Regions from separate parts of the Homo sapiens genome. Here regions 2, 3 and 4 are each linked to region 1. The links are contacts of gene promoters, found by promoter capture Hi-C in blood cells and fetal thymus (Javierre and others, 2016). All regions are on one chromosome and are shown on one strand. Each heading gives the region's core, a stretch centred on a gene start or on the middle of the fragment in contact. The rest is flanking DNA. Distances are from core to core; before and after follow the strand shown. Region 1 holds the start of ZNF383 (zinc finger protein 383). Region 2 holds the start of ZFP14 (ZFP14 zinc finger protein). Region 3 holds the start of ZFP82 (ZFP82 zinc finger protein). Region 4 holds the start of ZNF529 (zinc finger protein 529).

Region 1 (3,247 bases), core at 748-3,247:
TTTTACCCAAACATATAAAGAATTGTTACAACTCAATAATAACCAATTTTAAAATAAGAAAATTTTATTTATTTATTTATTTATTATTATTTTTTGAGATGCAGTTTTGCTCTTGTTGCCCTAGCTGGAGTGCAACAGTGTGATCTCAGCTCACAGCAACCTCTGCCTCCCGGGTTCAAGTGATTCTCCTGCAGGGATTACAGGCATGCACCGCCACGCCTGGCCAATTTCGTATTTTTAGTAGAGACGGTGTTTCTCCACGTTGGTCAGGGTGGTCTCGAACTCCCAACCTCAGGTGATCTGCCCGCCTCAGCCTCCCAAAGTGCTAGGATTACAGGCGTGAGCCACTGCGCCCAGCCGAATATTTTCAATAGATGTCACAAAAGAAGATAAAAGAATGGCAAATAAGTATATGAAAGTATGCTAAGTTCATTGACATCAGGAAATGCAAATTAAAAACATAATTTGATACTACTGCTCATTCCTTAGAATAGTCAATAGATGCCTGATGTGGGGTTTGGGAGGTGGGGATTGACTTAACAATGTGGGGGGCAGAGGGCGGTGAATAAAAATATTCTATATCCGCCGGGCGCGGTGGCTCACGCTTGTAATCTCAGCACTTTGGGAGGCCGAGGCGAGCGGATCACGAAGTCAGAAGTTCGAGGTCGGGAGTTCGAGACCAGCCTGTGAGCTCGAACCCTGTCTCTACTAAAAATACAAAAATTAGCCAGGCATGGTGGCGGGCACCTGTAATACCAGCTACTCGGAAGGCTGAGGCAGGAGAATCGCTTGAACCCGGGAGGCGGAACTTGCAGTGAGCCGAGATCTCGCCACTGCAGTCCAGCCTGGGTGACAGCTAGACTCCAACTCAAAAAAAAAAAAAAAAAAATTCTATATCCAGTAACACTAAGGATAAATGCTTGAGGGGATAGACACCCTATTTTACATGATATGATTCTTACGCATTGCATGCCTGTATCAAAACATCTCATGTACCCCATATACAACTACTATGTACCCACAAAAATTTAACTAAAATGCTTAAAAATTTTTTAATTTTAAAAAATATTCTATATCCTGATTACGATGGTGGTGACAAGGGTTTAGACATGCGTTGAAGCTTACCGAACAGTTCACTTAAAATGAGTGCATTTTATTGTATCTAAATTATTCTTCAGTAAAGTTGATTTTTAAAAAACATGCACACAAATATAATTTACAAACTATAACATTAGCTCGTTTATGGTGTACCATTCAGTCACTTTTAGTGTATTCAGAGTTGTGCAAACATCATTATCTAATTCAAGAAGCTTTGCATTACCCCAAAAATGAACCCTTTAGCTATTACCAATCACTCACAGTTCCCCCTAATCCTGCTAGTCCTAAAAAACTCTAACTTACTCCTTTTCCGTAGATTTGACTATTTTAAATATTTCCTATAAATGCAGTCATACAGTATGTGGCTTATCCACGGATGAAGGCAAAAATGACGATTTAGTCAGTCTAGCATTCTCAGAGAGCGTTATAACGCCTAGTACAGTCCGGGGTCCTGGGTGCGTTCTGCACTGAGTCGGCTTGGGGCAGGAAGTCATTTAAGCGACCTCCTTCCACTTGCCCCAGCGCCTCACCCCTTCCTGCTCTAGACTACAGTTCCCAAAAATCCTTGCGGCTCTAGTCAACATCTGGCCCGAAGCTGGCGACCTTTTCCTGTTTCTCAGGGAACTCCCTGGGGTTGGCCGGTACCATGGAGGAAGATTGTCTTCAGCGTGCAGGGCCAGCGTCCTACGGCAGTTTCACTCTGAGCCTGTGTCTGGATCACGGAGACGCGGGGTAGCGGTTCGGAGTGCGGAGCAGGGATGTCCCCGAGCTGTGCAGCTGCAAGAACCCGAAAAAACAGGCGCCATCTTCTCGGCGCGGTCCTACTCCGGACTGTATTTCCCAGAGGCCCCCGCGAGTCCAGGGCAGCCCCTTCATTTGCCTGCTGGACCCTCCGCCTCAAGGGTAGGGGAAGTGCGCGGTGAGCGGCCTGGGTCTTGCAGGCTCGGCTGGGGCCCGCAGGTACGTGCATGGGAGTTTGAAGGGACTGACCAGGCTGGTCTGGAGTGTTGGGCATGTATGAGTGTGTCGGGCATGTATGAGTTGGTCGGGCTGATAGAGGGGGTGGTGGGGAGGCGGGCGCGAGGCGTGGGCTTCCGTGTGTGAGTGTGACCTTATGTGACTGTGCCTCTCTGTGTGCGCGGGTGTGATTGTATATCCTCGTTGTAGTTGTGTAATTGTAACAATGTAAGGCTGTATGTGTAGGTATGACTGTGTCCCGTGTTGGGACTGTGATTGTGTGTGGCTGTGTAACTTTGCGTGACATTTGTGGAGGGTGTTTGTGTGGAGAGAATCTGATGAGGCTGTGACTGTGTGTTAGTCTGAGGGGTGTGTGTAATTGTGTTTGTATGACTGTTAGCAGCACTTAAGTGTACTGGATGCCTTACTGAGTAAATCTACTACCCAGAAATAACCCAGTAACGTGAGAATGTGAGAGTGTGACCATGTAACTTTATGTAGCACTGTGTCTGCGGTTGGAAAGTGCGTGTAATCGTGCCGGGGTGATATGTGTGTCCTAGTGGTCATTGTGTTATTTTGAATGTGTGATTGTGTGTAGTGCTCAATAGGGGTCCTGGGGAGGGGGGAACTGTAACTTTGTGTGGCTCAGTAGTGCGTGTGGTATTGTGACTATCTGTAGCACTCTGGTTCTGAATGGTGCTATGTTTGAGGGGTCTGTAAATATGCTAGTGTAACTTATCCTCAAGGTAGATGTGGGACAATGATTGTGTGACCATATATAGTGTTATTGTTTGGGTGAGGCGTGCCTGTGGAGGTCTATGTGGGTCCCCATGGTGGCTGGGTGACTGCAGCATTGGGTAGGGGGTGCTTGTGACTGTCTTTGTGACTCCAGCTCTCCCTGTGAGGTCAGGACAGATTCTCGAGAGGAGAGACCTCACCCCTCTGATACCAAGAATGCTCATGACAGCCTACACTTCTCTGTTTTTGTTTTGTTTTGTTTTAAGGCGGAGTTTCGCTGTTGTTGCCCAGGCTGGAGTGCAATGGCGCAATCTCGGCTCACCGCAACCTCCGCCTCCCCGGTTCAAGCAATTCTCCTGCCTCAGCCTTCCTAGTAGCTGGGATTACAGGCGTGTGTCACCACGCCCTGCTAATTTTGTATTTTCAGTAGAGACGGGGTTTCTCCGTGTTGGTC
Region 2 (3,247 bases), core at 561-3,060, 840 kb before region 1:
AAATTTAAAAATTGCGCGTGGGACCACGTGCCTGTGGTCTCAGCTACTCAAGAGGCTGAGGTGGAAGGATCGCTTGAGCCAGGGAGGTCCAGGCTGCAGGGAGCGAGATCACTTCACTGCACTCCAGCCTGAGGGACAGAGTGAGACCCTGTCTCTAAAAAAAAAAAAAAAACTTAAGTAACAAAATAAAGCTCTGCAGTTAGCTTCTCTTCAGGAGGTTTACTTCCAGACCATCCAAATGATTAGAAAGAGGCAGCTCATAAGAGAAACTAAATTACTGCCAAATGCTCATGTCAATACCTACTGGAGGCCGGGTGCGGTGGCTCATCCCTGTAGTTCTAGCTACTTGGCAGGCTGAAGCAGGAGAATCCTGCTTGAACCCGGGAGGCGGAGGTTTCAGTGAGCACATCGTGCCACTGCACTCCAGCCTGGGTAACAGACCCAGACTCCATCTCAAAAAATACAAAAAAAAACAAAACAAAACAAACCTACTGGAAAGGGGTAGGAATTGGAATCTACCTTCATCACCCCATCATTCACTGGGAAGGAAGGCCAAAGCACCAGGTCAGTGGACAGGACATTTCAGGGGTTAAAGTCTAACTAGCTGAAGATTAACTGGAACAAGCCCGCATAGTCTGACAAAATCATATCTATTGACTGGCAGAAAGGGAGAAAATTCCACAGGAAGGGTTGGAATAGAATGGACGAGAGAGACGAGAAAAGCTCTTTCGTAAACGGTTGAGTTCCAGCTGAAAGATTCTAAGGAGGATCTAATGACAGCTGCAATCTGGAATGGCTGCTGTTTCCGAGGTGAGATTAGGAGAGGCAGGGATTAATGAGATATTGAATGCAATCATGAGTGTAATCAAGAGGGTATCCCCAGTAATAAAATGAAAACAGCAAAGCAAGTCTAGAACATCACTGGTAAGAAAACTGTAATCTCTCAAAGAGGGAGTCATTATGCCATTTTACAACTACTGCACCACCTGGGGAGAAATCATGTTTTCTATTAATTTTGCAACTGGCTTTATCTGTCTCTTCCTTCCTAGCCTGATTAATGACAGAGCTGCTTCATTGTTCAGTCCGAGCTGATTTTCATTCCACAGAAGAGGAAAGCAAATGCCCCCACGCCCAGAAAAAATAAAAATTACACTTCATGGAACAAAACGGAAACACAAACTCATCTGGATGTTGACTTGTCTATATGCAACAGCAATCATTTCCTCCTCTCCCCGCTGCCTTCCTAAAGAACAGCAGGATTGGGAAAGGAGACGGGAATCTTGAGACCGCGGGCCTTTCCTGGAGCCGGCCTTGGCTGAGCAGGACACACCCCCGCTAGCGCACTTGCTCCCTCCGTCTACTGCGCGCAAAACCCGATGGAAATAACAGGGAGCCTGGAATAAAGCTGACCCTTTCCCGTATCAGAGCGAAAGGCCAGGTACACGAAGACGGGGCTGGGATCTGTCTCCGAGTTCCCCGCAGTTTCCATGGGAGGGAGCTCGGGTAAAGCTGTGCAATCTGCAGTTCTTCAGACTGCGTCTTTTTGTTTGGGGGCCTTCATTCACTCCGGGGTTCCTGTATCTAACTCGGAGCCATTCCGGGCCGCTGGACCTGGGCGGCTCTGAAGCGAGAAGGCAGAGGACGCAACAGGGCACCCGGCGCCCAGTCAGCGCCACAAACTCCACAGCTACTGCCTCCTGGCTCACACTGAGGTCTGCGCCGCCCCCGCGCCACCCCCGCGCCCATTGCCTCGGTGCAAGCGACCAACTCACCTCTCGGAGCCGACACCAGCAGCGAAGCCGGAAAGAACTGCGAGCGGAGGCCTGTGGGAAATGTAGTCCGCCGATGGGAGGGACTGGTTCCAGCCCCAACGGGCTGCGCGGAGTGCGCATGCGCGGGGGCCGGAGCCCCGGGTGCGCTCGGGGCGGGAAGGCCCTCCGCGCTGCGTGGGGCTGAGGCGAGCTCGGGCTTGCGTTTGCTTTTGTCGCTGAGGAAGACTTTTATTTGTTTATTTTCTTGAGACAGGGTCTTACTCTGTCGCCCAGGCTGGAGTGCAGTGGCGTGATTAGAGCTCACTGCAGCCGCGACCTCCCGGGCTCAAGCGACCCTCCCACCCGAGCCTCCAGAGTAGCTGGGACTGCAGGCGCGCGCCACCACGCCCAACTCATTTTTTAAGTTTTTATAGAGACCAGATCTCCCTATGTTACCCAAGCCGGTGTCGAACTCCTGGGCTTAAAAGATCCTCCCGCCTGAGCCTCCCAAAGTGCTGGGACTACAGGCGTGAGCCACCAGGCTCAGCCGCGGAGGATTTAGAAAGAAGTTTTGGCACCAGCAGATGCCTAATATGTGTACTAAACACCTACCAGTTACTCACTGCATACACCCAAGCAAGGTGTGGGCACACATCAGGCATGCAATGAAAATACTCTCAAAGCCCACCAGAACCTGGAGCAGGACGTAAACCTAGAAAGGTCGCTCGTGCTCACTGCCCTCTCCCTTTCTCCCACTCTGTCTCTGTCTCTGTGTGTGTGTGTGTGTGTGTGTGTGTGTGTGTGTGTGTGTGTGTCTCGTATCTCCTGCAGTTGTGAATGTATTGTTCTACTAAAAATACAAAAAATTAGCCGGGCGTGGTCGCGCGCGCCTGTAATCCCAGCTACTCAGGAGGCTGAGGCAGGAAAATCGCTTGAACCCGGGAAGCGGAGGTTGCATTGAGCTGAGATCCGCCATTGCACCCCAGCTTGGGCAACAAGAGCGAAACTCCGTTTCAAAAGAAAAAGACTAACTGGAGAGGTCTGTCTCCAATGAGACTGAATTTGTCCTGTCCTGCGTTCCTTCAGGAAAGAAATGGGATAAGCCCACCAGGGACCACCCTGAGGCATCTTCTGTATCCCAAATTCTTTGATATATTAGTTAATACATGAAAGAATTTGTTCTTTCCTTAAGAATATAAAACTTTAGAAGATATTTGAAAATGCCTCGGCAATCTGGTTTCATTTTGCAAACAATAGGATATGCATGAAATAGGAGATAAATGAAAAATCTGAGCTACTTTATAACTACTAAGAAGGTGGCCAGACGCGGTGGCTGACGCCTATAATCCCATCACTTTCGGGGGGCCGAGGCGGGTGGATCACCTGAGGTCAGGGGTTTGAGACCAGCCTGGCCAACATGGTGAAACCCCGTCTCTACTAAAAATACAAAAAAATTTAGCTGGGCATGGTGACGCACACCTGTAGTCCCAGCTACT
Region 3 (3,247 bases), core at 530-3,029, 800 kb before region 1:
ACAACAACCTTCGCTCATACAATAGTCTCTGCACCCAAGTCAGCCGCACAGACTCCGTCACGTCCCAGCCCCGGCCCCGTCACGCCCACGACACACACACCCGGGCCTGAGGCGCGGGCTCCCGCCCCTCTGCGATACTGCAGTGGCCCCGCTTACCTCTCTTTACCCCCTGGGCCGCAGCGCTTTTCCTACAGATTACCAGGACCGACGCTCCGGGCCAGGACTGCTCACTCGGGGCGCGAACCCGAGGCACAGCGATGCCCGAACGGAGGAAGCCGCTGCCGGGTCACGCCACAATCCCCGGGGCCTAACGGGCTGCGCGCGGAGGCTGCTGGGAGGGCCGGGCGCGCTCACGGAGTGCGCAGGCGCGGCCAGTCTCAAGGGTCCGCTCGCTGGTGCAGCCCCTGCTCTGCGTGAACCCGGAGCCGGAGCTAGGTCCGTCCCAGCGAGGCTGCGCTTCGAGTCCCTTAGCGCCTGGGGACGGCGCGGCAGGGCCTGGAGGGGAGCGGGGACAGATGGCTGGCGCGTTAAAGAGGGGCGCCCGCGACCGCCTCTCTATAGTGCCAACTAGGGAGCCCTGTGAGCGAGGACGGCGCTGCGAGTCTGTCCCTGGCGCGCTCCTGGGTGGGATTCTTTCACTGGGTGTGGCTGTTGGGATTTGAGACCGTGTGACTCCGGAGATTCGGGGAAGCCAGTTCCTATATTTTCCATTTCTGTATTTTTAAATGGTAAAAACAATGAAAAGGAGAACAATATTTTGTGAAATATGAAAATCATACATGTCAAATTTCAGTGTCCATAAATAAAAGTTTTATTGGAACATAGCCGTGTTTGATTGTGTACTGTCTATTGCTATATTTGAGCTACAAGGACAGACTCGAGTAGTTACACAGACCAGATGGCCCACGCAGCCTAAAATACAGTCAGTTCTCACTATTCACAGTAGTTATGGTCTATAAACTTGCTACAAACACGGAATTAGTGAATACCATTCCACTGCTTCTAGGGGAAATACAGGGTTAGTTTCCTGTAAGCATCTGGTCACATTTTAGTCAACCGATGAATGCATAAGCTTATTTTATTGTGTTTATTTTCTTTTTTTCTTTTTTTTTTTTTTTTTTGAGATAGGGTCTTGCTCTGTCACCCAGGCTGGAGTGCAGTGGTGGGATCTTGGCTCACTGCAACCTCCTCCGCCTCCCGGGTTCCAGCAATTCTCCTGCCTCAGCCCCCAGAGTAGCTGGGAATACAGATGCATGTCACCATGCCCAGCTGATTTTTGTATTTTGTAGAAACGGAGTTTCACCATGTTGACCAGGCTGGTCTCAAACTCCTGACCTCAGGTGATCCACCCGCCTTGGCCTCCCAAAAGTGCTGGGATTATAGGCATGAGCCACCGCGCCTGGCCTTATTGTGTTTCTATTTAAACACTTTAATATATATTATTGATTCATTAACATTGAACTCATGGCCAACAGCTCCATAACTCATGCCTGAATGAAGCTTATCTAACACATGTATTTTTTCTGTAAGACACATGACCGCTTTCTCATTCATAGGAACATCAACAGCACTTTAGTACTACTACATTTGGGGTCCCTTTGAAACAGCAAAATCACCAGCAAAAAACAAAAATATGAGAAGCCAAGGTACTAAATGGACTGCAAAAAGGGTACCTGTTTACAGTATGAGAGCTGAAATAAGAAGATAGAGGGTCACTTTGTTTGACTTTGGCTGAGAACATGCCTGTTAAGGGACTCAAAAAGGTTCACCGCTCTTCGGATGTCCACAAATGACCACAAAGGTGCTGCAAATATTGACTCTGGGTTTATAAAAAAGTTTTAGCAAGTAGATGAATTCACAAATTCAGAATCTGTGAATGAAGATTGACTGTATTTACTATCAGGCCCTTTAAAGAAAAAGTTTGCCAATCCCTGTTTTTATATGTCCCTCTTAGTTATACAGCTAGTGTTTAAAAACTACTTGAAATAATTATTTTCCCTGTGCCACCAATTATGTCTATAATTGATTGTACCCCATTAAATAAGCACAAAGAAAAAAGAAAGCTTTCTTTATAGAAGAAGGCCAGCTAATAACTATCAAGGGTTTGATTTTACGTGGCTTAGACACGCTGCTTCAAATGCATTTAAGATGTTTGGTTTTAACAAGGATTTTGCAACAGTATAGTGTTTTCCTTAAGTTCAATGTCATTTCTATGTCATGGCAGCTGTCACCTGCAGTTAGGTAAGACAGTGACATCATTAACATGGATGCATTTTCATGGCATGAAGGCTAGCCATTGATGGGGTAATATAACACAATTTATCAGTAAACGCTGAGTTTTCTTTGAAGTCAGTCTCTGATTTCTTACAGTGCTTGATGTCTGCCTTGCCTGCTAGTGACCAATTCCCCTGCGTCTTTACAGAGCCTTGTTACTCACTCAGTGTAAAGACAGTGGGGGAAACAAGGTTTCCCAAAGTATCCTTATGTGCAAAAGTGTTTCTTACTACTTTGGAAATACTAAGCTGAGTTTAATGTTTATTCTTTTTCTACCAACAGACACAAAAAGGACAAGCACATGCCTTAGAATATTCAATACAATTTTCTACAGCGATATGGTTAAATACTCTTCTGTCTTCACTACTTTTTTGTTTTTACTTTACTTGGAAATTTTAATTCTCTAGGAATAACGGGGCAGGAGTCTAAAATAATACTTTGTGGGAGTGAAGTATATATTTTTTTCCAAGTAAAAAAAAAAAATCAGGCCAGGCGTGATGGCTTAGGCCAGGCGTGATGACTCATGCCTGTAGTCCCACATACTCGGAAGGCCAAGGCAGGAGGATAGCTTGAGCCTGTGAGATCGAGATTACAGTGAGCTATGGATCGGCCACTGCACTCCGGGCTGGGCGACAGAGCGAGACCCTGTCTCAAAATTAAAAAAAGGAAAAAAAAAAAAAAAAAAGTCTGCGCTCCCCGGGGCCCAAGGAGAGGACCCAGGAGAGGAGTCTGGCTCCTTTTGCCTCAGACGAGTCCAGGGCGCCGGGTTAACTGGTCTAAAGTCCCAGGCGCTTTCTGGGACTGCTCAGCCACCGGCCGCTCCCGGCACCAGGGGACGCCGGACGCCCTCTGGACAATCGGCGCACTTGCCACGATCTTGGACGGGCCTCGGGCCTCGACCTTAAGATTCCCCGCTCCAGCTCCGAGATGTCAGCAACGCTGATCCTGGAGCCCGCGGGCCGCGGCTGCCGAG
Region 4 (3,247 bases), core at 546-3,045, 640 kb before region 1:
AAACCCCTTCTCTACTAAAAATTCAAAAATTAGCCGGGCATGGTGGCGGGCGCCTGTAATCCCAGCTACTTGGGAGGCTGAGGCAGGAGACTCACTTGAACCTGGGAGGCAGAGGTTGCAGTGAACTGAGATCGCACCATTGCGCTCCAGCCTGGGCAATAACAGTGAAACTCTGTCTCAAAAAAAAAAAAAAAAGTGTCTAATGGAAATTTTTAAATTACCTAAGTGGCTTTATATTATATTTGCATTAGACTGTGCTGCTTTAGACTCAGACACCACTGTATCAGGCTGCCTCTCACAATCTACACCAATGTCACACTGCCAAATCTCAAAGAAGATTTGGTTGTCACCACTTAAATCCCCTCATGAATGTTCTGGAAAAACTCCCTGCCCTTGTTGACATAGCCTCTCTGCATAAAACTCCTATCATATTCCCACTCCTAAATGTCTCCAAAGCCAACTTTGTCACTTACTGATTAATACCTACCATCTCCTATCTTGCTTTGTTTGCAAATCAAGTCTGTAAATAAGATCAAAGGTATCTAGTGTGCCATTCTACTTAATCACTCGTCTCCTCCTTAACAAATTACATTCTAAAAAAAAGTTTTAACTTCTCCTCCAGGAGTTGTATTTCTATACCATAAAAATCCTTTGGAAAAAAAGAAGCACATGGGAGAATTGAATGATTTACCTAATGCATATGTGAATATTCAATGAAAGGGAAATGGGCATTTGGAAAGGCAATGGAGGACAAGGGGACCCATCTCTACGGTCCTGTTGTTAATTGGGAAGAGAAAACCAAGGGACCAGGTAAATGAACAAAAAAAAAAACTAACCTTGAGTTGGCCATTAGTACCAATGCTGTCTTCCACTTCAGGGGGCCTTCACTTGCAGAACTACATAACCAAGAGGGAGAAAGGACTCATGACATCCTGGACTGGTTAAATAAGAACACAGTGTTCACCACCAGAAAAGCCCATCACACACAACAAACACACCCAGATCGAAGAGGGAAACTAGAATACTGTCGACTCCTCCCCACATCCGAGAAAAAGGTACGACCAATGCCTAGCAGTTTCTAGGGAACACAGCTCAGGAAATACTGTAGTTCTTTAATGTATAAATGGCCTCCAAACTCATGCAAGGGGAGTTATCCCAGGAATGAATACTACACCTATGCCCTCCCCTTCACGTCTTCCCAGGAAACTTCATTTATCTATCTTATCTATCTATCTATCTATCTATCTATTATCTATCATTTATCTATCTTCTATATATCATCTATGTAATCTATCTATATGCGTGTGTGTGTGTGTATAAGACCTCACGAAGAGATTCCATCACAGACATCACAGAGTCGGAAAAATGACGCTTTACCCAAAACAAACTCCTACAGGCTCACGGAAAAAAACGAACAAACAAACAAACAAAAAAAAACAAAAAAACACTTCTACCCCGTTCACACTTATAGTTGGTCACAACAGTGCTGTCACACGATCACGTCACCGTAGACCAGGGTCACACGATAGACCCCGCCCCTACTCACCGTCCTGAGTCCGATCAAACAGCACCCACGGCACACACTAGGGTCTCCGTCTCTCACACACACACACCACAATGACGTCGTAAACAATAGCACTAACCACCATCGTCCGCAGCTCCCGCGTACAGAGGCCTCAGGCTCCCGGCTCCACGTGGACCGACCTCGCCCGGCAGCGCGGGGCCACCTCACCGCGAGCTCCTCCCGCAGCCCGGCCCGGGTCACCTCGACTCGCCAGGCTTAACTCAATAACCACAACACCGGAAAAGGAAGCAAAGGTCGAAGTTCATCCGCGGCCCTGAGGCCTGTGGGAAACGTAGTCCAACAACGAAAGAGCCCTGAAGCTCAAGCGGAGCCCGCTGGCCGCAGGGGCCGCACCACGCCCCAGACCCTGGAGTTTCCGGGTGCGCAGACCCTTGCCATCAGCAGAGGCTGCCGCTGCGCGTCCCCTAGGCGCGGAAGAGGCGGCTGGTGGTCCCTGACGGCAAGGTGAAGTCGAGGCAGTAATCGGGAACCCAGGTTGGGAGGACAGAATGGGGAACAGGAAGCTGGGGCGAGGGTGGTCTTGGGGGAGGTGGGGGGCCGCGGAATTCTAGGTGGCCCCTGCCTCACCTCTGGAAAGAACCGGAAGCCCGGGCCGGGGAGGGTGAAGGGAGTCGCGGACCCGGCTGCTCAGCCGAGGAGGAAACCCGGACCCCAGGCTGAGGGAGGCCGAAGAAGGAACTGGAGGGCCGGGCTGGGAAGGCCTGAAGCGGGTACAGCCTTTAGGCTGGGGAGGGTCGAGGGGAGAACTCGGAGCCTGAGTCGGGCGAGGTTTTGCTCCACTCTGGCTTCTAAGTGTGGGGGCCTCAGGATGTGACCCGTGGTCGTAAACCTGAGGGTGACTTGGAGTTTTTGTCCGTTTTGCACCATGAGAAAGGCCCCAGATGGAATCTGGCAGGTAGCGGCGGTTCAGTGTGTGTGTGTCTGCCTTAGGGCGTGTTTTACACTGTTGACGAAAAGACTCAGACTCTAAAGTATTTGAAGAGACTTATTCTGAGCTAAATATGAGTGACCAATGGCCGGTGGCCCAGCCCTCAGGAGATCTTGAGAACCTGTGCCCAGGGTGGACGGGATATATGTGGTTTTATACCTTTTAGGGAAACATGAGACACCAATCAAATACATGTAAAATGTACATTGATTCCCTCCGGAAAGGCGGGACAGCTGGAAGGTGGCTGGCCTTCCAGGTCATAGGTAGATTCAAAGATTATTTGATTGGCAATGGGTTGAAAGAGTTATTGACGTAAGACTTAGGAATGTCTCCAGGTAGCACGCTTCACAGAGAATAGATTGTAAATGTTTCTTTTCAGACTTGGGGTCTTTTCTATCAGTAATTCCAAAATGGAGGAGGGTATAATGAAGCATGTCCGACCCGCCCACCCCCGCCTTTCCATCATGGCTTTACTAGTTTTTCAGGTTAGGAATGCCCTGGCCAAGAGGAGGGGTCCATTCAAGATGGTCTGGGTGTGCTTAGGATTTTATTTTTGGTTTACAACACCAGCACCACCGGAGTTTGCTGGTGTCCTTTCCAGTCAGTTTCAAAGCAGAGACAGCCATAGTTCTGATTTGTGTCACTGTAACTGTCAGTTCCGGAATTCCATATTTCTCCTTTAGTTTACCCTAATGTGTGTGAGATTTCATGTGTAGTTCATTTTTCTTTTTCTG

Evidence for each region. Contacts are between HindIII fragments. The CHiCAGO score rates a contact against its expected background, and 5 or more counts as called.
Region 2: a contact is called between the fragment with the promoter of ZFP14 here and the fragment with the promoter of ZNF383 in region 1, in 1 of 17 cell types (total B cells). The highest score is 6.3, in total B cells.
Region 3: a fragment that was not itself captured here is called in contact with the fragment with the promoter of ZNF383 in region 1 in 1 of 17 cell types (total B cells); the score reaches 5.8 in total B cells.
Region 4: the fragment with the promoter of ZNF529 here is called in contact with the fragment with the promoter of ZNF383 in region 1 in 1 of 17 cell types (fetal thymus); the score reaches 5.1 in fetal thymus.

What each region holds. Positions count from the first base shown.
Region 1 is chr19:37,216,217-37,219,463 of GRCh38, forward strand. It overlaps ZNF383 (zinc finger protein 383), which reads left to right and starts at 1,998. Exons shown (of 6, transcript NM_001387601.1): 1 at 1,998-2,058. RefSeq lists an enhancer at 1,624-2,113. The HindIII fragment of the contact is 5,435 bases long and covers 1,309-3,247 here.
Region 2 is chr19:36,377,391-36,380,637 of GRCh38, forward strand. It overlaps ZFP14 (ZFP14 zinc finger protein), which reads right to left and starts at 1,811. Exons shown (of 5, transcript NM_020917.3): 1 at 1,773-1,811. RefSeq lists a silencer at 1,918-2,007. The HindIII fragment of the contact is 12,200 bases long and covers 1-3,247 here.
Region 3 is chr19:36,418,336-36,421,582 of GRCh38, forward strand. ZFP82 (ZFP82 zinc finger protein) reads right to left here and starts at 309. Exons shown (of 5, transcript NM_133466.4): 1 at 157-309. It also overlaps the pseudogene ACOT4P1. The HindIII fragment of the contact is 563 bases long and covers 1,499-2,061 here.
Region 4 is chr19:36,571,497-36,574,743 of GRCh38, forward strand. It overlaps ZNF529 (zinc finger protein 529), which reads right to left and starts at 1,796. Exons shown (of 5, transcript NM_020951.5): 1 at 1,644-1,796; 2 at 837-896. The coding sequence starts at 850. It overlaps ZNF529-AS1 (ZNF529 antisense RNA 1), which reads left to right and starts at 1,853. Exons shown (of 5, transcript NR_173348.1): 1 at 1,853-2,059. RefSeq lists an enhancer at 1,853-1,942. The HindIII fragment of the contact is 11,229 bases long and covers 1-3,247 here.